Regions from separate parts of the Homo sapiens genome. Here all the other regions are linked to region 6. The links are contacts of gene promoters, found by promoter capture Hi-C in blood cells and fetal thymus (Javierre and others, 2016). All regions are on one chromosome and are shown on one strand. Each heading gives the region's core, a stretch centred on a gene start or on the middle of the fragment in contact. The rest is flanking DNA. Distances are from core to core; before and after follow the strand shown.

Evidence for each region. The method cuts DNA at HindIII sites, captures the fragments that hold promoters and counts their contacts. A CHiCAGO score of 5 or more calls a contact.
Region 1: a fragment that was not itself captured here is called in contact with the fragment with the promoter of GIMAP8 in region 6 in 1 of 17 cell types (M1 macrophages); the score reaches 5.2 in M1 macrophages.
Region 2: a contact is called between a fragment that was not itself captured here and the fragment with the promoter of GIMAP8 in region 6, in 1 of 17 cell types (M2 macrophages). The highest score is 5.3, in M2 macrophages.
Region 3: a contact is called between a fragment that was not itself captured here and the fragment with the promoter of GIMAP8 in region 6, in 1 of 17 cell types (monocytes). The highest score is 5.3, in monocytes.
Region 4: a fragment that was not itself captured here is called in contact with the fragment with the promoter of GIMAP8 in region 6 in 17 of 17 cell types (activated CD4 T cells, M1 macrophages, M0 macrophages and 14 more); the score reaches 28.3 in activated CD4 T cells.
Region 5: a fragment that was not itself captured here is called in contact with the fragment with the promoter of GIMAP8 in region 6 in 4 of 17 cell types (M2 macrophages, M1 macrophages, naive CD4 T cells and 1 more); the score reaches 10.0 in M2 macrophages.

The regions. Positions count from the first base shown.
Region 1 is chr7:150,904,065-150,908,617 of GRCh38, forward strand. No RefSeq gene overlaps it. Among named protein-coding and RNA genes, the nearest start is that of AOC1, 54 kb to the left of the region's middle. The HindIII fragment of the contact is 324 bases long and covers 2,216-2,539 here.
Region 2 is chr7:150,887,027-150,891,571 of GRCh38, forward strand. No RefSeq gene overlaps it. Among named protein-coding and RNA genes, the nearest start is that of AOC1, 37 kb to the left of the region's middle. The HindIII fragment of the contact is 8,329 bases long and covers 1-4,545 here.
Region 3 is chr7:150,840,080-150,844,529 of GRCh38, forward strand. It overlaps LOC105375567 (a long non-coding RNA gene), which reads right to left. Exons shown (of 5, transcript XR_928171.3): 2 at 1,311-1,366. Among named protein-coding and RNA genes, the nearest start is that of AOC1, 10 kb to the right of the region's middle. The HindIII fragment of the contact is 8,468 bases long and covers 1-4,450 here.
Region 4 is chr7:150,770,947-150,775,033 of GRCh38, forward strand. The region is part of intron 2 of LOC105375566 (a long non-coding RNA gene); the gene reads right to left. Among named protein-coding and RNA genes, the nearest start is that of TMEM176B, 27 kb to the right of the region's middle. The HindIII fragment of the contact is 1,816 bases long and covers 1,609-3,424 here.
Region 5 is chr7:150,869,767-150,873,927 of GRCh38, forward strand. All of the region lies in intron 1 of LOC105375567 (a long non-coding RNA gene), which reads right to left. Among named protein-coding and RNA genes, the nearest start is that of AOC1, 19 kb to the left of the region's middle. The HindIII fragment of the contact is 8,356 bases long and covers 1-4,161 here.
Region 6 is chr7:150,448,843-150,453,162 of GRCh38, forward strand. It overlaps GIMAP8 (GTPase, IMAP family member 8), which reads left to right and starts at 1,788. Exons shown (of 5, transcript NM_175571.4): 1 at 1,788-2,333. The HindIII fragment of the contact is 1,822 bases long and covers 763-2,584 here.

The DNA of each region.
Region 1 (4,553 bases), core at 1,128-3,627, 460 kb after region 6:
TGTGAATGATATTCGTTTATGGATTACAAATACAATAGCGGACAGTTATTACTCTGCTGAATACTTTTTGCTGGCTATTTTATTTAACAAACTACCACGTGGTTTCCCCAAGAACAGTTAGATTCCCCATTTCACAAATGTGGAAGCTGAGGTTTAGAGTGGTTGAATAAATTGTTCACAGTCACACAGCTAGTACATGGCAGGTCCCAACTTTGAGGCCAAATCACCTTGTTTCACAGCCAATGTCATTTCTCTCCATGACCCCTCCTGCCTGTGTACCACAGGTCACAGGTGTGCATGAGGTGTCTGTGTGTCACAGGAGGGCATCACCACTCTCCTCCACCTGGGCTGAGCTATGTCCCTCCAGGACAGTGGTGGAGGATGCTTCCCAGGAGGAGTGACATCCTGTTTGTAAGCCACCAGCTTGTAAGTCATGGAGTTGCCTGTGGTGGCATGGCGGAAGCCTGGCTGTGCTCTGTGGGCCAAGGGCATGAGGGACAGGCAGCCCTTCATGGCAAAGAGCCAAAGAGTAATTCAGAAAACTAGAATTTGAATAGAATCACCTCAACTTTTAAAGACGGCATACCAAAACCCCAAGCAAATATCACATCCAATGGAGAAACCTTAGAAACATCCCCATCTAGATTGGCAAGAAGATAAGGTGCCTGTTAGCATTGCTGCTATGTAACAAAGAGCCAGAGTCAGGGCCACTGTTATAAAACAAGAAAAGGAAATGGGAGGTGTAGAAGTCGGAAGGAGGAAAGAGATTAAAATGTTATTTGTGGACTATATGAAAATTTACATAGAAATTTCAACTAATTATTAAAACTAATAACAGGGTTGCTGGATGGATGTAAAGTCAACTTACAAAGACCAATAACACTTTGTCTATACCACATTAACCACCTATAATATATAGGAGAAAATAAGACATATATACATATAAGAAAATAGGATACCTTTCATAACAGCAACACAACCTATAAAATGCCTGAAAAAAAATATACTAGTCCTCTGTAAAGGAAATTTTTACCCTCTAATAAAGGAGATAAAAGTGGATCTAAATAAACAGAATAATCTGTGTTGTTGGATTGGACAACTTAATATTAAAGTATCAATTCTACCCAATTATTACCACAATTGTCGTCCTAATCAAACTCCAACTGTCCTTTTTTAGGAATGCAATACATTTATTCTAAAATTTATAAGGAAGAATAAAAGTTCCCAAATTACTACCATAATTTTTTTAAAGATGTTACAGGATCTCTGGGGTGTCGACTTTTCTGACTGGAAACCTCTGTGGCCACGGCGCCTTTGCCCGAGTTCTTGTCCTGTGTCCAGGAAGAATGAGGTACACAGACAAGTGATGGGTAAAGAAGAAGAGTTTTATTTAGTGTTAGAACAGCTCAGAGGAGTGGGTAGCTCCTTTCTATAGGCAGGTCCTCCGTTGAGTGTTCCTCTCTCAGCAGAGGAGGCCTGGAGAGGGTGGCTCCTGTCTGCAGGCAAGTCATTCGGAGGTCTCTGCAGGTCTCTGAAACTCTCAGCAGACAGGGTAGCTCCTCTCTGCACACTGGTCATCTCTGCAGCTCTCAGCAGAGAGGGTACTCCTCTCTGCAGCTCTCAGCGTAGAGGGTACTCCTCTCTGCAGCTGGTCGTCCTGTCCCATCATCTCTCTGCCCTCTTCATCTTCTGGCCATCCTCCATGCCTTAAGTCCGGCAGCCGCACTGTTCGCTTTTAACTGGCTGTCAGAGGCCCGGTATTTTTCTTTCATTTTGACTATTGTGGAGCTTAGGGACTCCGAAGAAAAGGACAGAAAGATTTGCTTTTACTCACCCTTCCACAGATCCCAGATGAGCCAAGAAGAATGTATCTCACCAGAAGGAAGATAACCCAAAAATCATAGTAATAAGAAGGTAAAGTGCTGGCATCATAAACCAAAATAGAGAACTTGGATATAGACCCACGTGTGTACAAGAACTTGGTTTATGGCAGAGAAGCCACCACAAGTCAGTGTAGAAAGAAGAACATGTGTAGCAAATGATTGCTGAGAAAACTAGCTCCTTAATAGGGGGTGGAGGGTGTTGGATTCCCACCACACCCATATGCAGAGGTGGGCTCCAGGTGAATTAAAGATCTCAATGTGAAAGATGTAACTATAAAGGCAATAGAAAAAATTACAATCATGTATTTGATACCTGGGGTTGGATTCAGGGAAGCTTTCATAAGAAAGACCTAAAAAGCACAAACTATAAGGCAAAACTTGATGTTTTCCCTATATAAAAATTAAGAATTTATATTCAAAACTGGATTTCCAAATGCAAAAGAATGAAACTGGACTCTTGTCTTACACCATACACAAAAATCAACTCAAAATGGATAAAAGATCTTAAAGGTAAGACCTGAAACCATAAAACTCCTAGAAGAAAACAAGCGGGAAAAAGTTTTCGACATTGGCCCTGGCAATGACTTTTTGGATACCACACCAAAACTCAGGCTACAAAAGCAAAAATAAATCAATGGGACCGCATCAAACTAAAAAGCTTCTGCACAGCAAAGCAAACAATCGACAACAAAAAAAAAGGCAACCAACAAATCAGAGAAAAATATTTGTAAACCATGTATCTAATAGGGAGTTAATATCGAAAATGCCTTTTAAAAACGCATACAACTCAACAGCAAAAACAACAAACAATCCACTTTAAAAATGGGCAAAGAACCTGAATAAACATTTCTCCAAAGAAGACATAGAAATGGCCAGCAGATATATGAAAGATGCCCGACATCACTAATGATCAGGTAAATGCAAATCAAAACCACTATGAGATACCACCTCACATCTGTCAAGGTGACCATTACCAAAAAGACTAGAGATTACAAGTGTTGGTGTTGGTGTGGAGAAAAGGGAACCTTCCTTGTACACTACTGGTGAGAATATAAGCTCGTTTAGCCATTATAGTAAACAATATAGAAGCTCCTCAAAAAAATTAAAAATAAAATTACCTTATAATCCAGCAATCCCATTACTGGCCATATACCCAAAGAAAATGAGATCACCACCTCATAAAGATATCTGCACTCCCAAGTTCATTGCAGCATTATTCACAATAGCCAAGATACAGAAACAGCCTAGATGTCTGTCAGTGGACAAATGGATAAAGAAACTATGGTATGTATACACAGTGGAATATTAATTAGGCTTTATAAAGGAGATCCTGCCATTTGACACAATGTAGACAGAGCTGGAGGACATTATGCTAACTGAAATAAGCCAGATACAGAAAGACAAATATAGTGGATCAAACTTATATGTGGAATCTTAAAAAAGAAAAAAAGAAAGAAAGGCAAATACACAGAGATAGAGAATAAAACAGTGGTTACCAGGAGTAAGGTGGGAGAAAGAAATGGGAAGATGTGAGTCAAAGTACACAGAATAGCAGATATGTAGGATGGACAAATCTAAAGATCCAGACATGAGGACTTTGGTTACTAATAGTGTATCACATTGGGAATTTTTGCTAAATGAGTATATTGTAACTACTCTTACCAAAAAAAAAGTGCTAATATAAGATGATGGATATGTTACTTTACTTCACTATAGTAATTATTTTACTATCTACATGGATCTCGTAACATCATGTTGTATGCCTTAAATATACACAATCAAATTTATTTTTTAAAAAATCTAATTGATACAACTCAGCACTCTGGAGGACCCACCATAGGTAAAAGTTAACTTATTATGACCATTCAGGGGCAAAAAGAATTTCTATTTAAGGGATACCGTAGACAAGGCCAGGTGCAGTTGTTCACACCTATAATCCCAGCACTTTGGGGGGCCAAGGTGGTTGGATTGCTTGAGCTCAGGAGTTTGAGACAACCTGGGCAACACTGCAAAACCCCGTCTCTACCAAAAATACAAAAATTAGCTGGGCATGGTGGCACATGCCTGTGGTCCCAACTACTGGAGAGTCTGGGAGGATCACTGGAGCCCAGGAAGTTGAAGTGTCAGTGAGCCATGTTTGTGCCACTGTGCTCCAGCCTGAGTGACATAGCAAGATCCTGTCTCAATCAATCAATCAATAAAGAATACCATAGACAAAACTAACATATGGAAGCCTGATTAGAAAAAGGCATTTGCAATGTCTAAAAGTGAGTAAGTATTAATGGCCGGCCACCATAGCTCATACCTGTTATCCTAGCACTTTGGGAGGCCAAAGCAAGAGAATCACTTGAGCTCAGGAGTTCAAGACCATCCTGGGCAACATAGTGAGACCTCGTTTCTATTTAAAAAAAAAAAAACTGACTAAGCATTAACAGAACATACAAGAAAGGAAAGCTAATAGAAAATTAAAATTACAGTGACAGAAACATTTAATCCCATCAGAATGGAAAACCTAGGAAAGTATATATAATTGGCATCTGTCATTCATGGCTCCCCAAAATCTTTTGTCTTTTTTTGTGACAGGGTCTCTCTCTGTCACTCAGGTTGGAATGCAATGGTGCAGTCACAGCTCACTGCAGTCTTGACTTCCTGGGCTCAAGCAATCCTCCC
Region 2 (4,545 bases), core at 73-2,572, 440 kb after region 6:
TGAAGTTCACAGAGAGGAGATGGTCATCTACAAGCCAAGGAGAGAGGCCTGAGAAGAAATTAATTTCCAAGGACTTAATCTTAGACTTCTAGACTCCAGAATCATGAGAAAATACATTTCTTTCTTTTTTTTTTAGTTGAGACAGAGTCTTGCTCTGTCACCCAGGTTGGAGTGCTGTGGCGTGATCTCAGCTCACTCCAACCTCCGCCTCCCAGGTGTCTCATGCGTCAGTGTGAAGAGACCACCAAACAGGCTTTGTGTGAGTAACAAGGCTGTTTATTTCACCTGGGTGCAGGCGGGCTGAGTCTGAAAAGACAGTCAGCAAAGGGTGGTGGGATTATCATTGGTTCTTATAGGTTTTGGGATAGGAGGTGGAGTTAAGAGCAATGTTTTAGGGGCAGGGATGGATCTCACAAAGTACATTCTCAAGGGTGGGGACAATTACAAAGAAACTTCTTAAGGGTGGGGGAGATTATAAAGAACCTTCTTAAGGGTGGGGGAGATTACAAAGTACATTGATCAATTACGGTGGGGCAGAAACAAATCACAATGGTGGAATGTCATCAGTTAAGGCTATTTTCACTTTTGTGGATCTTCATTTGCTTCAGGCCATCTGGATGTATACGTGCAGGTCACTGGGGATATGATGGCTTAGCTTGGGCTCAGAGGCCTGACACCAGGTTCAAGCAATTCCCCTGCCTCAGCCTCCCAAGTAGCTGGGATTACAGGCATGTGCCACCACACCCAGCTAATTTTTGGGTTTTTTTTTGTTTTTTTTTTTTTGAGTAGAGACAGGATTTCACCATGTTGGCCAGGCTGGTCTCAAACTCCTGACCTCAAGTGATCTGCCCACCTCAGCCTCCCAAAGTGCTAGGATTACAGGCGTGAACCACTGCACCTGGCCAGAAAATAAATTTCTATTGTTTAAGCCACCCAATCTGTGATACTTTGTTATGGAGGTCCTAGCAACTAATGCACCAACTTTTCAGAAATAAAAATGATTATAAAACGATACTCTATGCCAGCAAATTAGACAACTTAGAAGAAATGAACATATTTCTAGAAAGACACTGCCAAGACCAGCTCGGTCGGGGAGACCCTAACCCAGTGGTACTAGAAGAATTAAAGACACACACACAAAAACATAGAGGTATGAAGTGGGAAATCAGGGATCTCATAGCCTTCAGAGCTGAGAACCCCAAACAGAGTTTACCCACGTATTGATTAACAGCAAGCCAGTCATTAGCTTTGTTTCTATAGATATTAGATTAACTAAAAGTATTCCTTATGGGAAACGGGATTAACTAAAGGTATCCCTTATGGGAAAGGAAGGGATGGGTCTGGCTTGTTATCTGCAGCAGGAGCATGTCCCTAAGGCCCAGATCTCTCATGCTATTGTTTGTGGTTTAAGAATGCCTTTAAGCGGTTTTCTGCCCTGGGTGGGCCAGGTGTACCTTGCCCTCATTCTGGTAAACCCACAACCTTCCAGCGTGGGCATTATGGCTATCATGAACATGTCACAGTGCTGCAGACATTTTGTTTATGGCCAGTTTTGGGGCCAGCTTATGGCCAGATTTTGGGGGGCCTGTTCCCAACAGACACAACTACTGAAGGTGACTCAAGAAGAAACAGAAAATCTGAATGGACCTATAACAAGTAAAGAGAATGAATTAGTCATGTTAAATTTCCCACAAAGGAAGGCCCAGATCCAGATGGCTTCAAATGGTGAATTCTACCAAATTCTAAAGTAGAATTAAGATCAATCTTTTACAAACACTTCCAAAAAATAAAAGAGAAGAGAGTATTTCTCAACTTATTCTATGGGGCCAGTATTATCCTACACCAAAACCAGACAAAGACATCACAAGAAATGAAAACTACACATCAATATCTCTTATGAGGCCAGTCACAGTGGCTCATGCCTATATCCCAGCACTTTGGGAGGCCGAGGAGGATCACTTGAGGCCAGGAGTTTGAAGCTGCAGTGAGCTATGATTGCACCATTGCACTCCACCCTGGGTGGCAGAGTGAGACCCTGTCTCTATAAAATATATGTATTATATTTTATAATAGATATAAATGTTATATATAGAGAGAGAGATCTTATTAATATAGGTACAAAAATCCTCAACAAAATACCAGCAAACAAAATTCAGCAGTATATAAAAAGGATTACACACCCGGACTAGCTGGGATTTATCCTAGGAATGCAAAGTTGGTTTAACATCCAAAGTTCAACTAATTTAATACATCATATCAGTAGAATAAAGGACAAAACCCACATGATCATTTCAATGGATTCAGTAAAACATTAAGTAAATTCAATACCCTGTCATGATGAAAACACTGAACAAACTAGGAATAGAAGAAACCTTCATCAACCTGATAAAGGGAATCCACCAAAAAAATTCACACACACACACACACACACACACACACACACACACAGCTGAGATCATACTTAATGAGGAAAGACTGAATGCTTTCCTGCTAAGATCAGAAATAAGATAAAAATATCTACTTTTATCACTTCTATTCAACATTGTCCCAGAGGTCCTATTCAGGGAAATTAGGGAAGAAAATTAAATAAGGGCTTTCAGATTGGAAAGGAAGAAGTAAACTATCTCTATTTGCAGAATGCAAGATCAAGATATAAACTGTAGGCTGGGCATAGTGGCTCACGCCTGTAATCCCAGCACTTTGGGAGGCCAAGGCAGTATGATCACTTGAGCCCAGGAGTTTGAGACCAGCCTGGGCAACATAGTGAGCCCCCTCTCTAAAAAATATTTTTTAAATCCAGGCATAGAGGCACATGTCTGTAGTCCCAGCTATTCGGGAAGCTGAGGTGGGAGAATAACTTAATTCAGGAGTTCGAGGCTGCAGTGGACTGTAATTATGCCACTGCACTCCAGCTTGGGTAGCAGAGTGAGACCCTGTCTCTTAAAAGATAAAAATAAAAAATATTGAAATACCTAGAATTAGGGTATGATTTCTTCACTATTACACCAAAAATACAAGCAACTAAAGAAAAAATAGATACATTTGACTTCATCAACATTAAAAATGTTTGCACTTCAAAGGACATTATCAAGAAAGTGAAAGGACAACAACAAGAATGGCAGCAAATATTTATAAATTTATATACCTGGTAAGAGTCTAGTGTCCACCATACACACACACACACACACACACACACACACACCTCAATAATAAAAAGACAACCCAATTAAAGATGGGCAAAGCATTTGAATAGACATTTCTCCAAAGAAGATAAACAAATTGCCAATAAGCACATGAAAAGATGCTCAACATGACCAGTCATTAGAGAAATGCAAACCAAAACCACAGAGCAATGCCATTTCCCATTACTAGGAAGGCTATAATGAAAAAGATAAGACAATAACAAGTGTTGTTAAGAATGTAGAGAAATTAGGCCATGCGCAGGGGCTCGTGCCTGTAATCCCAGCACTTTGGGAGGCCGAGGCGGGCAGATCAACTGAGGTCAGGAGTTCAAGACCAGCCATGACCAACATGGTGAAATCCCGTCTCTACTAAAAATACAAAATTAGCTATGCGTGGTGGTGCATGCCTGTAATCCCAGCTACACAGGAGGCTGAGGCAGGAGAATCGCTTGAACCCGGGAAGCGGAGGTTGCAGTGAGCCGAGATCGTGCCATTGCACTCCAGCCAGAGCAATAAGAGTGAAACTCCATCTCAAAAAAAAAAAAAAAAAAGAATGTAGAGAAGTAGAGAAATTGAAACCTTCATACATGCTGGTGAGAATGTAAAATGGTACCACCTTTTTACTACTTTCTGTAGGTTCGTGATTGCTTAGGGCTGAGGGGACTTGGGGGGAAATTGGGAGTAATTGCCAATGGGTACAGGGTTACTTTGGGGAATGTTAAAAATGTTCTAAAATTCAGATTGTTGCACAACCTCTGTTAATATATTAGAAACCATTGAACTGCACAGGCTAAATGGATGAATTGTAAGGTATGTAAATTATAACTCGATAAATCTGTAAATAGATAGATGATAGATAGATAGATAGATAGATAGATAGATAGATAGATAGACAGACAGACAGATACAACATTTTTTGAGACAGGGCCTCACTCCCACTGTCCAGGCTTGAGTGCAGTGATGCAATCTCAGCTCACTGCAGCCTTAACTTCCCAGGTTCAGGTGATCTTCCCACCTCAGCCTCCCACTGTTATATTTTTAAAAGCAGGGGACGGAGAGGAGGAGGGAGGAAAGCAGAAGGGAAGGTAAGGAGGAAGGAGAAAGGGAGAGAGGGAAGGAGAAGGAAAAGGGAGGGGAGGGGAAGGGAGAGGGATGAGGGTTAATTAATGAGTGGGTGACTTAGCAGGAAGTCCTGATTGACAGGTCAGGCCACTGCAGGAACAATTTATACAGCCAAGAAGTAATTGAACAGATTTAGATTTGACCACAAACCTGAGCAGACACCTGAATTCTCACTGTTATGGTAGCTCATTAAAAAGAATGAGAAAAAGGCAATAGATGATTGAATGGGACTTTTTCAGTG
Region 3 (4,450 bases), core at 1,446-3,945, 390 kb after region 6:
ATTAGTGTACCAAGAACAAAAGGAAGATTGGGGCTAGGCTGTAAAAGGTTTTTAATGCCAAATTAAATAGTTTATATTTTATCCAATAGGCAACTGGAACCCACCAGAGGGAGGAAGGGGACATGGTCAGATCTATCTTCCAGCAAAAGCATGAAGGGCAGATTGGAGGTGCTCAGGAGGAGAGTCAGGGCGTCTGGAGGCAATTGCAGTTTTCAGGCCAAATCACAAGGGCTTAAATGTAGACCAGAAGTTCTCAGCAGGGCAGCAGTTTTGCCTCCCAGGAAATGACTGGTAATGTCTGAAGACATTTTTGGTTGTCCTGATAGGGCGGTGGCTGCTTTTGGCCTCTAGTGGGTTGAGGCCAGAGATGCTGCTAGACGTCCTACTACACACAGGACAGGCCCGTGAGCATGATCAGGCTCAAACTATCAATGGTGCCAAGGTTAAAAATCCTTGATGTAGACAATGATAGCAAAGACCGTGAGGCTGGAAAGAAATCCAGAGCTATTTAGGAATTAGAACAGGAAGAACTTCAAAACCAGTTAGATACTGACAAGGAGCCAATTGCTATATCTTGAAGGAAATTGTGCAGTCTTTGTTTGTTGTTGTTGTGGTGGTGGTGGTGGTGGTGGTTGTTGTTTTGAGACAGGGTCTCGCTCTGTTGCCCAGGCTGGAGTGCAGTGGCGCAATCACAGCTCACTTCGGCTTCGACTTCCTAGGTTCATTATGCTTTTGGGTTAATTTCTTACCAGTGGTATCTGTGATAAATTACAGATTGACAGGGCCACCTCATCAGTAAAGGTGGCTGGAAGATACCACCTTGGTGAGTGAGCAGGTCCAAGCCCCGGGCTGGTTACAAAGCCAGCTGGTTCTGGAAGTTTTGATTCCTGAGATGGCCAACAACTTACTCACATGCAGAGGGAAAATAACACTTAGAAAGAAAAATAAGAGTTTTGAAAAGAGAGGGGGGTGAATGAAAAGCCTTTAGGGAAACTGGCTTGTTACTAAGACAGATGTGAACTAAACAAGACAGACGTGAACTAAACAAGACAGACGTGAACTAAACAAGACAGACATGAACTAAATCAACTCTCTGATCTTATGGAGCAGGGGAAGGGGAAAAGTCAAGGAGCCCTCACACACACTCACCACATCTCAGGGCCCCTGGAGTCCTCTGTATTACCCGCATTCATACCTCCCCAACTGTAACCATCATCATCATCATAGCTAACCATGATCATCATCATCATAGCTAACATTTATTGAGTGATTTCTATGTGTCAAAAACATTAGTTAGGTGCTTTACATACCTTTTACCTCATCTGATGCCAACAATTTTGTCACACCTTCATATCCATTATTGTGCCTGTTTCACAAATGAGAAAACTGAGTGAGGTTTAAAAAATTAACTTTTTTTTTTTTTTTTTTTTTGAGACAGAGTCTTGCTCTGTCGCCCAGGCTGGAGTGCAGTGGCGCAATCTCTGCTCACTGCAAGCTCTGCCTCCCGGGTTCATGCCATTCTCCTGCCTCAGCCTCCCAAGTAGGTGGGACTACAGGCGCCCGCCACCACACTTGGCTAATTTTTTTTTGTATTTTTAGTAGAGACGGGGTTTCACCGTGTTAGCCAGGATGGTCTCGATCTCATGACCTCGTGATCTGCCTGCCTCGGCCTCCCAAAGTGCTGGGATTACAGGCGTGAGCCACGGCACCCGGCCAAAAAATTAACTTCTTTACCCTAGGGGCAGGGCAAGATGGCAGAATAAAGGACTCCACCAAACATCCCCACCCCTACACAAGAACACCAAGTTTGACAACTATCTACTCAAAAGGAGCACTTTCATAGGAACCAAAAATCAGGTGAGCACTCACAGTGCCTGGTTTTGACTTCAAATTCCTGAGAGAGGCACTGAGGAGGGTGAGAAGGACAGTCTTGAGTTGCTGATGCCACCCTTCCCCCATCCCCTGGCAGTGGCTACATGGCACAGAGAATCTGTATATACACTTGAGAGAGGGAGAATGCCATGACTGTGAGGCTTTGCATTGAACTCAGTGCTGCTATGTCACAGCGGAAAGCAAAACTGAGCTATACTCAGCTGACACCACGGAGGGAACATGTGGACCAGCCCTGGCCAGAGGGTACTCACCCAGCCCAGCAGTCAGAGCATGAGTTCCAGCAAGCCTCACCCCCATTGGCTGCAGTGCTTTGGGACCCTAAGTGAACTTGAGGAGCAGTCTACGCAACAAGGACTGCAATTCCTAGGCAAGACCTAGTGCTGAGCTGGGCTTGGAGTTAGTGAACTGGTGGGGCACATGAGACACCAACTGTGGTGTCTAAGGAAGTGTTTGCACCACTCCTTCCCCAACCCCAGGCAGCACAGCACACAGCTCCAAAAGAGACCCCTTCCTTCTGCTTGAGGAGAGGGAAGAGTAAAGAGGATTTTGTCTCGCATTTTGGATACCAGCTCAGCCACAGTATGTTAGGGCACTGATAAAGGCTGTGAGGCCCCCATTCCAGGCCCTAGCTCCCAGACAACATTTCTGGACACACCATGGGCCAAGGGAGCCCATTGTCTTGAAGGATGAGTTCCTATGCCTGGCAACATTCACCACAAGCTGACTGAAGTTCCTTTGGTCCTTAACTGAGCATCAGTGGTAGCCTGGCAGTACTCCCCACGGGCCTGGTGAGGCTCCTCTGCCTGTGAGAATGGGATGTAAGAATGAGAAGGACTGCATCCTGTGGTTTGAGTTCCAGCTCAGCTGCAGTAGAATAGAACAACAGGTAGACTTCTAAGATTTTAGATTCCCATCCATGGCTCCAGATGGCATCCCTGGACCCACTCAGGACCTAGGGGACCTCACCAACCTGAAGGGAAGGATGTAAGCCTGGCTGGCGTCACCACCTTTGCTGATTGTAGAGCCCTAGGGCCTTGAGCAAATAGGCAGTAGCCAGGTAGTGGTTACAGCAGGCCTTGGGCAAGACCCAGTGTTGTGCTGATACTCCATATCCGACCCAGCACAGTCCCAGTGGCGGTGGCCACAGGGGTGCTTGTGTTACTCTACCCCTGGCTCCAGACAGCTCAACACAGAGAGAGAGACTCCATTTGTTTGGGAGAAAGTAAGGGAAGAAAAAAGAGTCTCTGCTTGGTAATCCGGAGAATTCTTCTGGACCTTATCAAAGACCACCAACGTGATACCTCTACAAGTGTGCAAGAACCACGGTGCTACTGGGCTAGGGGTGCCCACTAAAGCAGATACAGCTTAGATCATAGCACCCAAGTCCTTTTGAATACCTGGAAACTGTTCCCAAGGAGGACAGGCTCAAACAAACTCAGACTGCAAACATGGCAATAAATACCTAACTTTTTAATGCTCGAACACTGACGAACATCCACAAGCATCAAAGCCATCCAGGAAAACAAGACCTCATCAAATGAACTAAATAAGGCACCAGGGACCAACCTGGAGAAACAGAGATATCTGACCTTTCAGACAGAGAATTCAAAATAGCTGTTTTGAAGATACTCAAAGAAATTCAAGATAACACAGAGAAGGAATTCAGAATCCTGTCAGAAAATTTAACAGAGATTGAAATAATTGAAAAGAATCAAACAGAAATTCTGGAGTTGAAAATTTCAATTGACATACTGAAGAATGCGTCAGAGTCTCTTAATAGCAGAACTGCTCAAGCAGAAGAAAGAATTAGTGAGAATAGACAGGCTATTTGAAATTATATCGCCAGAAGAGACAAAAAAAATTTTTTTTTAATGAAGCACACCTACAGGATCTAGAAAATAGCCTCAAAAGGGCAGATCTAAGAGTTGTTGGCCTTAAAGAGGAGGTTGAGAAAGAGATGGGGTAGACAGTTTATTCAAAGGGATAGTAACAGAGAACTTCCCAAAACTAGAGAAAAGTATCAAGATCTGAGTACAAGAAGGTTATAGAACACCAAGCAGATTGAACCCAAAGAAGACCACTTCAAGGCACTTAATAATCACACTCCCAAAGGGCAAGGATTTTTTTTAAAAATGATCCTAAAAGCAGCAAGAGAAAAAAAAAAAAAAAACAAGTAACATACAATGGAGGTCCAATACATTTGGCAGCAGACTTTTTAGTGGAAATCTTACAAGCCAGGAGATAGTGGCATGACATATTTAAGGTGCTGAAGGAAAAAACTTTTACTCTAGAATTATATATCTGGTGAAAATATCCTTCAAACATGAAGGAGAAATACTTTCCCAGACAAACAAAAGCTGAGGAATTTCATCAACACCAGACCTGTCCTACAAAAAAATGCTAAAGGGAGTACTTCAATCAGAAAGAAAAGGATGTTAATGAGCAATAAGAAATTATCTAAAGATACAAAACTCACGGGTATTAGTAAGTACACAGAAAAACACAGAATACAACACTGTAACTGTGGTGTGTAAACTACTTTTAAGTAGAAAGACCA
Region 4 (4,087 bases), core at 1,267-3,766, 320 kb after region 6:
AAATCCAAGAAGGATTGAATTTGTGTCTGTAAAAAAATAACATGAAAATCTTAAGACAAAATACAGGAGATTATATGTACAAGCCAAGAGTTGAATGTACTTTCTTAACCAAGACATGAAGCCAGAAGTTATAAAAGAAAAGATGGCTTTAAAGTGTTTAATATGGCAAAGATGCCATAAACAAATTTAAAGATAAAAAAATAAATTTTTCTCTTGAGCCCAGGAGTTGTAGGCTGCAGTGAGATCTGATTGCACCACTGAAATCCAGCTTGGGTAACAGAGTGAGACCTCATCTCTAATGAAAAAAAAAAAAATTAAGATGAAATTTTAAAATCTATGTTACCAAAAAAACTCACAAAAATAAAAATGTGCAACATCCTTAGACTGTTCACAGATGAACAATCAATGGCCAATACACATGTGAAAAAAATTCACTTCATAATGAAGGAAATGAAAATCAAAACAACTTGAAAGCATTGTAAAAAGTTATATACTATTGACAAAAATTAGGGGTGAGCTGAGGTCTGGAGGTCGAGATCAGCCTGACCAACATGGAGAAACCCCATCTCGACTAAAAATACAAAAGGCCGGGTGTGGTGGCACATGCCTGTAATCCCAGCTACTCCGGAGGCTGAGGCAGGAGAATCGCTTGAATCCGGGAGGCGGAGGTTGCAGTGAGCCAAGATCGCGCCATTGCACTCCAGCCTGGGCAACAAGAGCAAAACTCCATCTCAAAAAAAAAAAAAAAAAAAAAAATAGTGGTGAGGTTGGGAAGAAACGCAAAAGATGCTTTAATGCATTGCTGGTAAATGTAAATTATTACAGCCTTTTAAGAAAGCTCTCAATAGGATTTATTTTATTTTAAAATATTTATACACTTTAATGCATCAACCCTATTCCAAAGACTCCGTCTCATGGCAATAAAAGCTCCAGTTAGTATAGTCTGGTTTTGCAGAATTGTTTCTAGAGGCAAAAACATAGGAAGAGAGGTAAAAGTGCATCAGTAGGGATACTCATATTGGTATACTCATATCATGGAAATATTATGCAGCACTAAAAAGGATTATTAGAATGGCTAAAATTAAATACACTGAACACACTGAGTGTTGGTGAAGATGTGGAGGGACTGGTGGTATATAAAATGGTGCAATTGGCCGGGCTCAGTGGCTCACGCCTGTAATCCCAGCACTTTGGGAGGCCAAGACAGGCAGATCACCTGAGGCCAGGAGTTCAAGACCAGCCTGGCCAACATGGCGAAATGCTGTCTCCACTAAAAATACAAAAAAAAAAAATTAGCCAGGTGTGGTGGCAGGCGCCTATAATCCCAGTTTCTCAGGAGACTGAGGCAGGAGAATTGCTTGAACCCAGGAGGCGGAGGTTGCAGTGAGCTGAGATCACACCAGTACACTCCAGCCTGGGCAACAAGAGCAAAACTGCATCTCAAAAAAAAAAAAAAAGTGGTGCAATGACTTTAGAAAACAATTGGCCAGTTTCTTAAAAAGTAATCTTACACACCCATAATATGACTCAGGCATTCCACTCCTAGGTATATTCCTAAGAGAAAAGAAATCATGTGTTCATAAATGTCTTATACCTGATCATTCATAAAGCTTTATCTGCAATAGGCAAAAGTTGGGAATAAACAAAATATCTATCAACAGGTGAATGGATAAACTAACTGTAGCATATCTATACAATGGAATATGACTTCTCAATAAAAAGATATGAGCTACTGATTCACACAACATGGGTGAACCTCAAAATTATTATGCTCAGTGGAAAAAGTCAAACAAAAGGAGTACATATAGTATATATGGTGTGATTCCACTTACTCTAGAAAATGCTCACTATTCTATAGTGACAAAAAGCAAGTCAGTGGCTGCCCGGGGATGGGGGTGAGAAGTGTCAGGAGGAAGGACTGACAAGGGTCATGAGGATATTTTGGGGGGGGCCAATGGATATGTGTCAAAACTTATTAAATCGTACACTTTAAATATGATTCTCTCTCTCCCACTCTGTCTCTCTCTCCCTCTGAATTCTCCCTCTCTCTCCCACTGAAAACTGGAATAAGACAAGGATGACCACTCTCACCACTCCTATTCAATATGGTACTGGAAGTACTAGCCAGAGCAATCAGGCAAGAGAAAGAAATAAAAAGCATTCAAATAGGAAGAGAGGAAGTCAAACTATCTCTGTTTTCAGACAATATGATTTTATATGTAGAAAACCTCATAGTCTCTGCCCAAAAGCTCTTACAGATTCAAGACAAACAACTTTAAGAAAGTTTCAGGATAAAAACTCAATGTACAAAAATTAGTAGCATTTCTATACACAAACAACGTCCAAGCTGAGAGTCAAATCAAGAATGCAAGCCCATTCGTAATAGCCACGCACACAGAAAAAAATAAAATACCTAGGCATTTTCAAATCTCTTTCAGTAAAATATCTTTCACCTCCCTAACCAAGGAGAGTTTTGTAATTCTCAACCCCAGTGAGGCGAAAGATCTCTACAATGAGAATTACAAAACAATGCTCAAAGAATTTAGAGATGACACAAACAGATGAAAAAACATTTCATGCTCATAGATAGGAAGAATCAATATTGTTAAAATGGCCATACTGCCCAAATCAATTTACAGATTCAATGCTATTCCTATCACACTACAAATTACCTTTTTAAAGAATTAGAAGAAACAATTCTAAAATTCATATGGATCCAAGAAAGAGCCCAAATAGTCAAAGCAATCCTAAGCAAAAAGAACAAAGCTGGAGGCATTACATTACCTGACTTCAAACTTTCCTAGAGAGCTACAGTAACAAAAAACAGCACGGTGTGGTACAGAAACAGACATATAGACCAATGGAACAGAATAGAGAGCCCAGAAATAAAGCCACACACCTACAACCATCTGATCTTCAACAAAGTCAACAGAAACAAGTAATGGGGAAAAGACATCCTAGTCAATAAATGGTGCTGGGATAACTGGCTACCCATATGCAGAAGATTGAAACCGGACCTCTTCATTTCACCATATACAAAAATCAACTCAAGGTGGATTGAAGACTTAAATGTAAAACCAAAACTACAAAATCCTAAAAGAAAACCTAGGGAATACCATTCTAGACATAGGCCCTGCCAAAGATTTCATGACAAAGATAACAAAAGCAATTGCAACAAAAACAAAAATTGACAAATGGGACCTAATTAAACTAAAGAGCCTCTGCACAGCAAAAGAAACTACCAACACAGTAAACAAACAACCTACAGAATGAGAGAAAATATTTGCAAACTATGTGTCCAACAAAGGTCTAATAACCAGAACCTATAAGGAACTTAAACAAATTAACAAGCAAAAACCCTTTTAAAAATGGGCAAAGGACATGAACAGACACTTCTCAAAAGAAGTCATATACATGGCCAACAAGCTTATGAAAAAATGAACATTACTAATCATTAGAGAAATGCAAATCAAACCCACAATGAGATACCATCTCACACCAGTCAGAATGGCTATCATTAAAAGTCAAAAAGTTTGGGAGGCCGAGGGGGGTAGATCATGAGGTCAGGAGTTTGAGACCAGCCTGGCCAACATAGTGAAACCCCATCTCTACTAAAAATACAAAAAATCAGCTGGGCATGGTGGCAGATGCCTATAATCCCAGCTACTTGGGAGGCTGAGGCAGGAGAATCGTTTGAACCTGGGAGGCGAAGGTTGCAGTGAGCCAAGATCGCGCCACTGCACTCCACTCCGGGTGACAGTGGGAGACTCCATCTCACCAAAAAAAAAAAAAAAAAAAAAAAATCAAAAAGTAACAGATGCTTGAGGTTGTTAAGAAAAGGGAATGCTTATACACTGCTGATGGAAATGTAAATTAGCTCAGCCACTGTGGAAAGCAGTTTGGTGATTTCTCAAAGAACTTAGAACTACAATTTGAACCAGCAATCCCATTACTGAGTATATACCCAAAGGAATATAAATCATCCTACCATAAAGACGCACACATGCATACGTTCATCGCAGCAATATCTGTGATAGCAAAGACCTGGGATCTACCTAGATGGCCATCAATGGTAGACTGAATAAAG
Region 5 (4,161 bases), core at 1,188-3,687, 420 kb after region 6:
CAGGCATGCAGATAGCTTGAGCCCAGGAGTTTGAGACCAGCCTAGGCAACATGACAAGACCCAGTCTCTACAAAAAATACAAAAATTAGCTGCGTTGGTGGTGCATGCATGTAGTCCCAGCTACTTGGGAGGCTGAGGTGGGAGGATTGCTTGAGCCCGGGAGGCAGAGGTTACAGTGAGCCGTGATTGTACTACTGCACTCCAGCCTGAGCAACAGAGTGAGACCTTGTATCAAAAAAAGGTCTTTGCCCCAGCCATGATCCTAACCCAGCATCCCAATATCACCACAGCCTTCACTGAGCCCCTGCTGAGATGGAAACTTGTCCCCAAGAAAGGAAGTATGGAAATAAGTAGGAGGTAGGGGGGAACTGAGAGCACAGCCTGAATATTCTGAGTTCCCTGTAGCTGCTGGCCTGGCTGTACATTGAGAGGCAATACAGATACAGGTGATGGTTTAAAGGATAGCTCAGGAATCACTCAGATCTCTGTCTCCCTCTTCACATGGCTGGCTTGCCTGGGTGTCTCTGTGTCTTTGCATTTCTCCTTTTATAAGGACACTAGTCATTGGGTTTAGGGCCCACCCTACTCCAGTAGGACCTCATTTTAACTCAATTACATCTGCAAGACTCTAATTCCAAATAAGGTTACGTTCATGGGAACTGGGGATTAGGACTCAAATATATCTTTTGAGGGGGTCACAATTTAGCTCACAATACAAATCTTTTCTATATCTCTACATTTCAGGGAAAGAAATGGACACAGAATTCTAGACAGTCTCACCAGGACTGAGAACAGCCATTTCCCAAGTCACTGGACTCATGGGAAATATGATGGACACTTCCTTAACCTCTATTATATTTCCCTCCTAATGTATCTTCCTGTTCTGCAGCAACTAGAAAGTTAAACTCTCCATTTCCCAGATTGTTTTATATCTAAAGCTCTGTATAGAATTAGTTTCTACCAATCAGGAGCATTTGAGCAAGATCTGGAAGATGAAAGGGATACTGAAACTGCCTTTCTGCCCTTGATGCTGCTGTGTTTGCAGGCGAGGTCAAGGAGTGGCAACAGCATTCCAGTCCCCAGCTTCCCAGGCCTAGAAAGGCAGGGACTGGCAGAATGATCATGCACTTGTGTGTGCTGCAGGGCCCATTCTCCTAGGAACCTGGCCTCCCAACTTGGCCTCCCAACACTTTAGGAAGCTGAAGCAGGAAGATCGCTTAGCCCAGGAGTTTGAGATCAACCTGATCAAAATAAAGAGAACTTGTCGCTTCAAAAAAAAAAATAAAAAGGTTTTTTTTAATTAGCCAGGCATGGTTGTGCACACCTATAGTCTCAACTGCTTGGGAGGCTGAGGCAGAGAATGGCTTGAGCCCAGAAGTTCAAGGCTGCAGTGGAGCCATGATCACACCACTGCACTGCAGCCTGGGTGACAGAGTGAGACCCTGTCTCAGAATAAATACATTAATTAAATAAAACCTCACATATAGAGTTGACTTTTGATGAGATTACCAAAACAATTCAATAGCAAAATAGACTTTCAACAAACAGTGCTGGGACAACTGGATATACACATGTAAAAGAATGAAACCGGAACCCTAGTATTTATCATATATAAAAATTATCTCAAAATGAATCAAAGACCTAAATGTAACAGCTAAAACTCTTAGAATAAAATGTAAGCATAAATCTTCACGACCTTGCCAATTTTAGGCAATGATTTCTGAGATATAACATCAAATGCCCAAGCAACAAAAGAAAAAAATGATAAAATAAACTTCATCAAAATGTAGAAACCTTTGTGCTTCAAAGGATATCATTAAGAAAATGAAAAGACAACCCACAGAATGGGAGAAAATACTTGCAAATCATATATCTGATATGGGTAACCCAATTTAAAAATGGGCAAAGGATCTGAACAGACATTTCTCCAAGGAAGATACATAGTAACCAATATCACATGAAAAGTTGCTCAACATCATTAGTCATAAGGGAAATGCAAATCAAAACCACAATGGGATACCACTTCATCCCCACCAGGATGGCTGTAATCAGAAAGACAGATAACAACAAGTGTTGGTGAGGATGTGGTGAAATTATAAACTTCATACATTGCTGGTGGGAATATAAAATAGTGCAGCTACTTTGGAAAACAGTCTGGCAGTTCTTCAAAAGGTTAGACAGACTACTATAGAATACAGAAATTTCACCCCAGGTATGTGTCCAAGAAATATGAAAATGTGTCCATACAAAAAGTTGTACATGAATGTTTATAGCAGCATTATTTATAATAGTCAAAAAGTTGAAACAAAACAAATATCCAATAACTGATGATTAAATAAACAAAATGTCATATATCCATACAATGGAATATCATTCTGCAATAAGGAAAAATGAAATATTGATACATGCTACAACATGGATGTACCTTGAAAACATTAGCTAAATGAAAGAAGACAAATGCAAAAGACCATGTAGTATATGATTCTACTTATTTGAAGTGTTCATAATATACAAATCCATAGAGGCAGAAAGTAGATTAGTGGTTGCCATGGTCTGGGAGGATTGGGGAGAATTGGATATAGAGTTTCTTTTAGAGGTAATGAAAACATTCTAAAATTGGTTGTGACAATAGATTTAATAAATCTATAAATTGTATAGTATGTGAATTGTATATCAATAAAGCTGTGATATTTTAAAAAGGATATGTTTCAGTATTTGCTGTTAAGTGATAAAGGCAAGTCACAGAATAATAAACATTGTAGAATTCTATTTATATAAACAAAAAACACACTTCCATATGTGTTTTAATGTTTTATGAACATTTACTCATATATTGTTTTTGTAATCTTTAAAAAATTTAATTACAAAAATGTAGCCATCCTAATATATAACAAAATAGAATTCATAGCCAGGAAATATCAAAAGAGATAGAGATATGTTATATCTATAGATGAAAAGAAACTCAAGAAGCATATCAGCTAATTCTAAGGTATGAATCTCATTAGGATCCTAATTTAAGTAAAGAGAATAGAAATATTTATAAGACAATTGGAAAATTAGAACACTGGATATTTGATGGTATTAAGAAATTATTGTTAATTCTTTAGGTTTGATAGGGTATTATGATTATGCTTAAAAAGAATTCCTTATCTTTTATAGATAGATGCTAGTGTATTTACTTTTTAAATGATATTATGTTTGCCATTACCTCAAAATAATCCAGTAGAAGGGGTGTGGAAGAGTTTGTGTAGTATGGATAAAATAAGAGTAGCCATGAGTAGTTGAAGCTGGATGATGGATTTGAGAGGGTTCATTATATCCTTCTCTCTACTTCTGTATCAGCTTGAAAGAGGTATAGTATATCTTGATGAAAGAAACAATAGACAAAGAAGATACAACATGCATAACATATATGCATCTAACAACATAATCTCAAGCAAGAAGAAGAAAACCAACAACATTGCTGATTTTAGTACATAAATCTCAGAACTGATAGATCAAGTAGACAAAAAAAGCAAAGACATAGATTATCTAAATAAGACATTTAATAAACTCATATTTGTATATAACCCTCCACAAACCAAAGAATGCATGTGTATATTGTGTACATATAACATTCACATAAACTGACCAAATAATGATTTTAAAAGAAGTCTCAAATTCTAAAGAATTGAAAGCATACAGACCATGTTCTGAGACCATAATGTAATGAAATATATGAATAAATAAATAAAAAAACCGTGCTCTTTGATAGTATGGCTTAACATTGTAAAGATATCCATCCTCCTCAAATGTTTTTTATAATTCCAATCCCAATCAAAATCCCAACCAGAATTTTTTAGGGGTTAATGAATTTATTCTAAAACATATGAAAAATGGGTTCACAAATGGTGAAATCATTTTTCAGAAAGAAGGACAAAGAAGTGAGACTGGTCCCATCAAATATTAAGTTACACTATAAAGCCATGGAAATTTTTTTAATCATGGTATTGGCTCAAGAGTAGACCAACAGACCAACAGAACCAAAAAGAGCTCAGAGACTCATGAATATAAGGGAATTACGAAGAAACAGGAAAAAACTGACTGTTTAGTAGGTTATAGTGGGGAAAAGCTCCCATAATATGGAGAAAAATAAAACTGCATCCTTACCTGATATAATAT
Region 6 (4,320 bases), core at 538-3,037:
CTTGTCATTAGCCACAAAGCCACTAGGGGGCAGGGAGCCCCCATCCTGCCTCAGATCGGTGCCAAACCAGAACCCGGCAGCCTGCCTTCTGCACGGAAATCAATTCTCTAGGAGCTGATTTGCTGAAAGATCATTTTGCAAAATGGTCAACTCAGCAAATAATCGACTTGCTGAATCTTTGAGGAGTTATTTGCAGCTTCAGTTTTACTTAGAGCAATCCCTGGATGCTTAATATTTCATTTAAGAATGAGTGAGCCTTTTCTTCTCTATTTTGGGGAAACAGTTTCTTGCTGAGCCTCTGCCTCTGTTAGTACCCCAGCGGGGATGAACTGCAGTACCTGGCTTCGGGTTTTTGTCTTTTCATTATAATGAGTTGGTTTTATGTGCGTTGACCTACTGTAAAGGAAGGGTGGGGTTCTTCCAAAATAGATCCTCTTTCAATGAGGAGACAGGTAGAGTGGGACATGGGAAGGGCTTTGTCAGCTTTCCCCATCAAGATGTGTCCTGTGTGTCCCCAAAGCTCTTCTTGAGCCATCCCAGCATAACCAGGGTTTCCCTCAGGTTCATAACAAGGTAGAGCAGTCCTCAAGGCTGGCGCATGAAGACCAGTCCAGGGGGAGGGTGGATCCCTCGGGATGTGATAGGCTGACAGCAGCTCCCCAAAGCCTGTGGTTTTGACTACTGTAGAGACTTCATATCTGAAGCATGCCCCTCTACTTCAGCCACCCCCACTGCTCCTCCTTCTGCGGGGTCCCTTTGGAAAGCTTAGCACCACCTCAGACATTTGGAAAACTAACTTGAGCTCCAGTCCCTCGAGGCCCTAGCCTCTGCATCCTGTGAAGAGGGCCCTGCTGTGCAGAGCGCAGAGGGTCCCGCACTCACTTGGATGAACCTCTAGGGCATTCTGCTCAGTCTCAGGAGGGCAGACACTGTGGGACTCCACTCACATGAGTATCTGACGTTGCCAAAAATCATAGAAACAGGCCGGGTGTGGTGGCTCACACCTGTAATCCCAGCGCTTTGGGAGGCTGAGGCAGGTGGATCACTTGAGGTCAGGAGTTCAAGACCAGCCTGGCCAACATGGTGAAACCCCGTTTCTACTAAAAATACAAATATTAGCCGTGTGTGGTGGCGGGAACCTGTAATCCCAGCTACTCGGGAGGCTGGGGCAGGAGAATTGCTTGAACTCGGGAGGTGGAGGTTGCAGTGAGCCGAGATCACACCATTGCACTCCAGCCTGGGCGACAGAGCAAGACTCTGTCTCAAAAAAAAAAAAAAAATCATAGAAACGGAAAGTAGAACGGTGGTTACCCGGGCTGGGGTTCGGGGAGGTGAGTTGGGGTGTAATGGGGAGAGTTTGGGTGCTGCAGGATGAAAAGTCCTGCAGATCTGGCACACAACCATGTGAATGTACTTTCTACTGTGGGCTATACACTTAGAAATGGTTAGGATGGTACTATTAATGTTACATCATTTTTACCCTAGTAAACATTTTTTAAGAAGTCTTCCTCCGTGTTTGACTTCCTTATGAAGTAGAGACCAGGTAGTTTGGACACTATGTTCTTTCACAAAAGGGATTTCATTTTGTGAAATATTTGAAAGCATCGAAGTCTAGCATTTCACGTTTTGCAAGCTGGGGAAAAGCATTCATTCCCTGAGAAGCAGCGTTGGTCTGTCAGGCTTGGAGTTCCCCGGGTTGTGGGTTTTAGGGAAGGGAAGGGAAGCGAGGAAGGACTTGTGAGAGGAAGTCCTAAAGGCCACTTAAGGGCACACAGAGGCCCGGAGCTGGCTTTGCTCAGAGCTTGTAGCGGCGCCACAATCTCTGTCCTCTCAGGAACAGGAACTGGCTTGACGTCCTTTTCCTGCCCTATCCAAGCCCCTGTTCTTGCAGCCCTTCTGAAGCTCAGCCTGGCACCGGCCCCGGCGCCCCAGCCCCTGGCCAAGCCTCTGCTGTCATTTCTCCTCCCTCCTCTCAGTCTGCAGCTGCGGGACGGGCCGGGCTCCTCAGTTTCTGCTGTGTTGTGACCCCACGAGGCGCTCAGCACCCAGGGAAGGCGCGTGTGTCCCCGATGCTGGCTCCTCCCTGAGCCCCGACGGCTCTCGAGGTTCTGAGCCTGTGGCCTGCACAGGGAACTTCCTCTCCGACTGCATTTATGCCTCTGTGGATGTGAAGGCTATTTCTAGAAATCTCTTCCTTTGCAGAAACACCCGAAACCCTCCTGCCAGGAAGACCAGGGCCTGGGAAGAGGGTCGCTCTCCGGCCATTCTCCCCTCACCCTCCTCACCTTCCTCACATCCTGTGCCCTGGGGGACCAGCAGCTGCTTCCACCCAGGTGAGAGATGGAGGGATAGAGCCAGGTGGATTGCGGAGCCTCGGAGACTGTGGGACGCCGTGGGACCCCATGGGACACGACCGCAGTGCATGTGTGACATGTGCACTCGTGTGTAGATGTGTGTGCACTGGTGCATGGCTGTGGGGGAGGATGGGCTTGGCACCGGGAAGGCAGCCTGCTCAGCCATGGGAGAGGAGGCTGGGTTGAATGGCAGGGTTGAATGGCAGAGTTGAATGGCAGGGGCCCTGGGAAGCTTTCCTCCTGGTCCAAAGCGTGTCTCCCCAGCCTGCTGGGGAGTAGATTCGGCAGGATGGGGACAGAGGCATATTCCCAGACATCTATGAGAGTGGCTGTCCTAAAAGAAGGCGTGTCGGGGAGTGGGTGTGAGCCCTGAAGAGGAGGAGGGCTGAGACTGGCAGAAGGGAGGAAGAAGCAGGCGGAAGCAGCCGGTCAGATGCCCCATGAAGCTAGATGGTGCCGCAGAGCAGCCCCCAGGAGGAAGCCAGCGGAGCTCCTCCCGCAAAGCAGGGGGTGGGGGATGCTGATTTTTCCACGTCTGCTTTTCTGATCTTTCCTGCCCCTTGCACAGTTAGGATTCTGTGAACTGGGCATTGGAGGGATTGGAGGGGTCAAGACCTTACCAAAAGCAATATTTCTGATTTCACCTACATTTCAGCCAACCTGGTCCTCAGCAGTTAACCTCTTCCCTTCCTCTTGATGGTTGCCCTGCTGGGCTGGGTCTAAGGTCTTCCCCACGCTGGGCTCTGGAGGCATCTCCAACCACCCTGCTCTGTAAGTGGGAACTGCGATTAGATGTGGGATGAATCCCCGCATGGCTGGATGCTGTGCTCAGATGCCTGAGTCCACGTTTGCCTTGGGCTGTTTCCTGAGAAGGAGGCAGAGGCTGCCTTTACAGTCTTCAGTGAATTATAGGAAGAACGCTCTCTTTTTCTCTCAGTTGCTCTGCTGGGGTCTCCAGAGTGGCCTGGGAAATTGAGCAGAGGGAAATGTGGGCTGGCAGAGCGTGAGTGAGGGTGAGTTTGGGTACCTTTTTGTCCTTAAGTGCACTTTCTACATGTTGGGGTGAAGTGCTACTGGCTGGGAAGCTGTATGTGTGGTAGGAGTGTGCATGTGCGTGTGTGTATGTGGGTGTGTGTGTGTAGGTCCTGACATCATGTGGAGCTGCAGGCAGGAGTCCAGCCAAGACTCATTGGTTTGGTCATACTCTGCTGGGGAACCATGCAAGGCTGTGTCGCTTAATTGGGAAAGAAATTTCTTTCTTCTTCAGACCTGTGGGAGGCCTCTGCTTCCTTCAGCTTGCTGTTTTCTCACTAGTGTCTTTTTTTCTTAAATTAATTTACAGAGACATCTCACTTCACTTGCATATATATGTGTGTGTGTATGTATATATGTATATATATGTATATATGTATGTATATATGTATATATGTGTATATATGTATATATATGTGTGTATATGTGTGTGTGTGTGTGTGTGAGATATATATATATATATATATATATATATATATATACATGCGAGTGGAACTACAGGCACCCACCACCATGCCTGGCTAATTTTTGTACTTTTAATAAAGACGGGGATTTCATCATGTTGACCAGGCTGGTCTCAAACTCCTGATCTCGAGGGATCTACCTGCCTTGGCCTCTGAAAGTGTTGGGGTTACAGGCGTGAGCCACTGCGCCCGGCCTCCCTCTCAGTTCTAAAAACCGTTTTTCTTCTTTTCTTCACATTTCTGTCTCTCCTGTGATCGTTCATTCCTTTACCTCCACGTATTGGGCATATACTACATGCCAGGCACAATGTTAGGGCCTGGGGACACAGAACAAAACAGGCATGTTTGGAGTTTCAGCACATGCTGTTATGGAGCTTTGTACCAAGGGTAGTACAGAGAACATTTAGACATTTAAAAATAAAATTAATAAATAATTATAAAATATAAATAATATCAGATAGAATCAATGT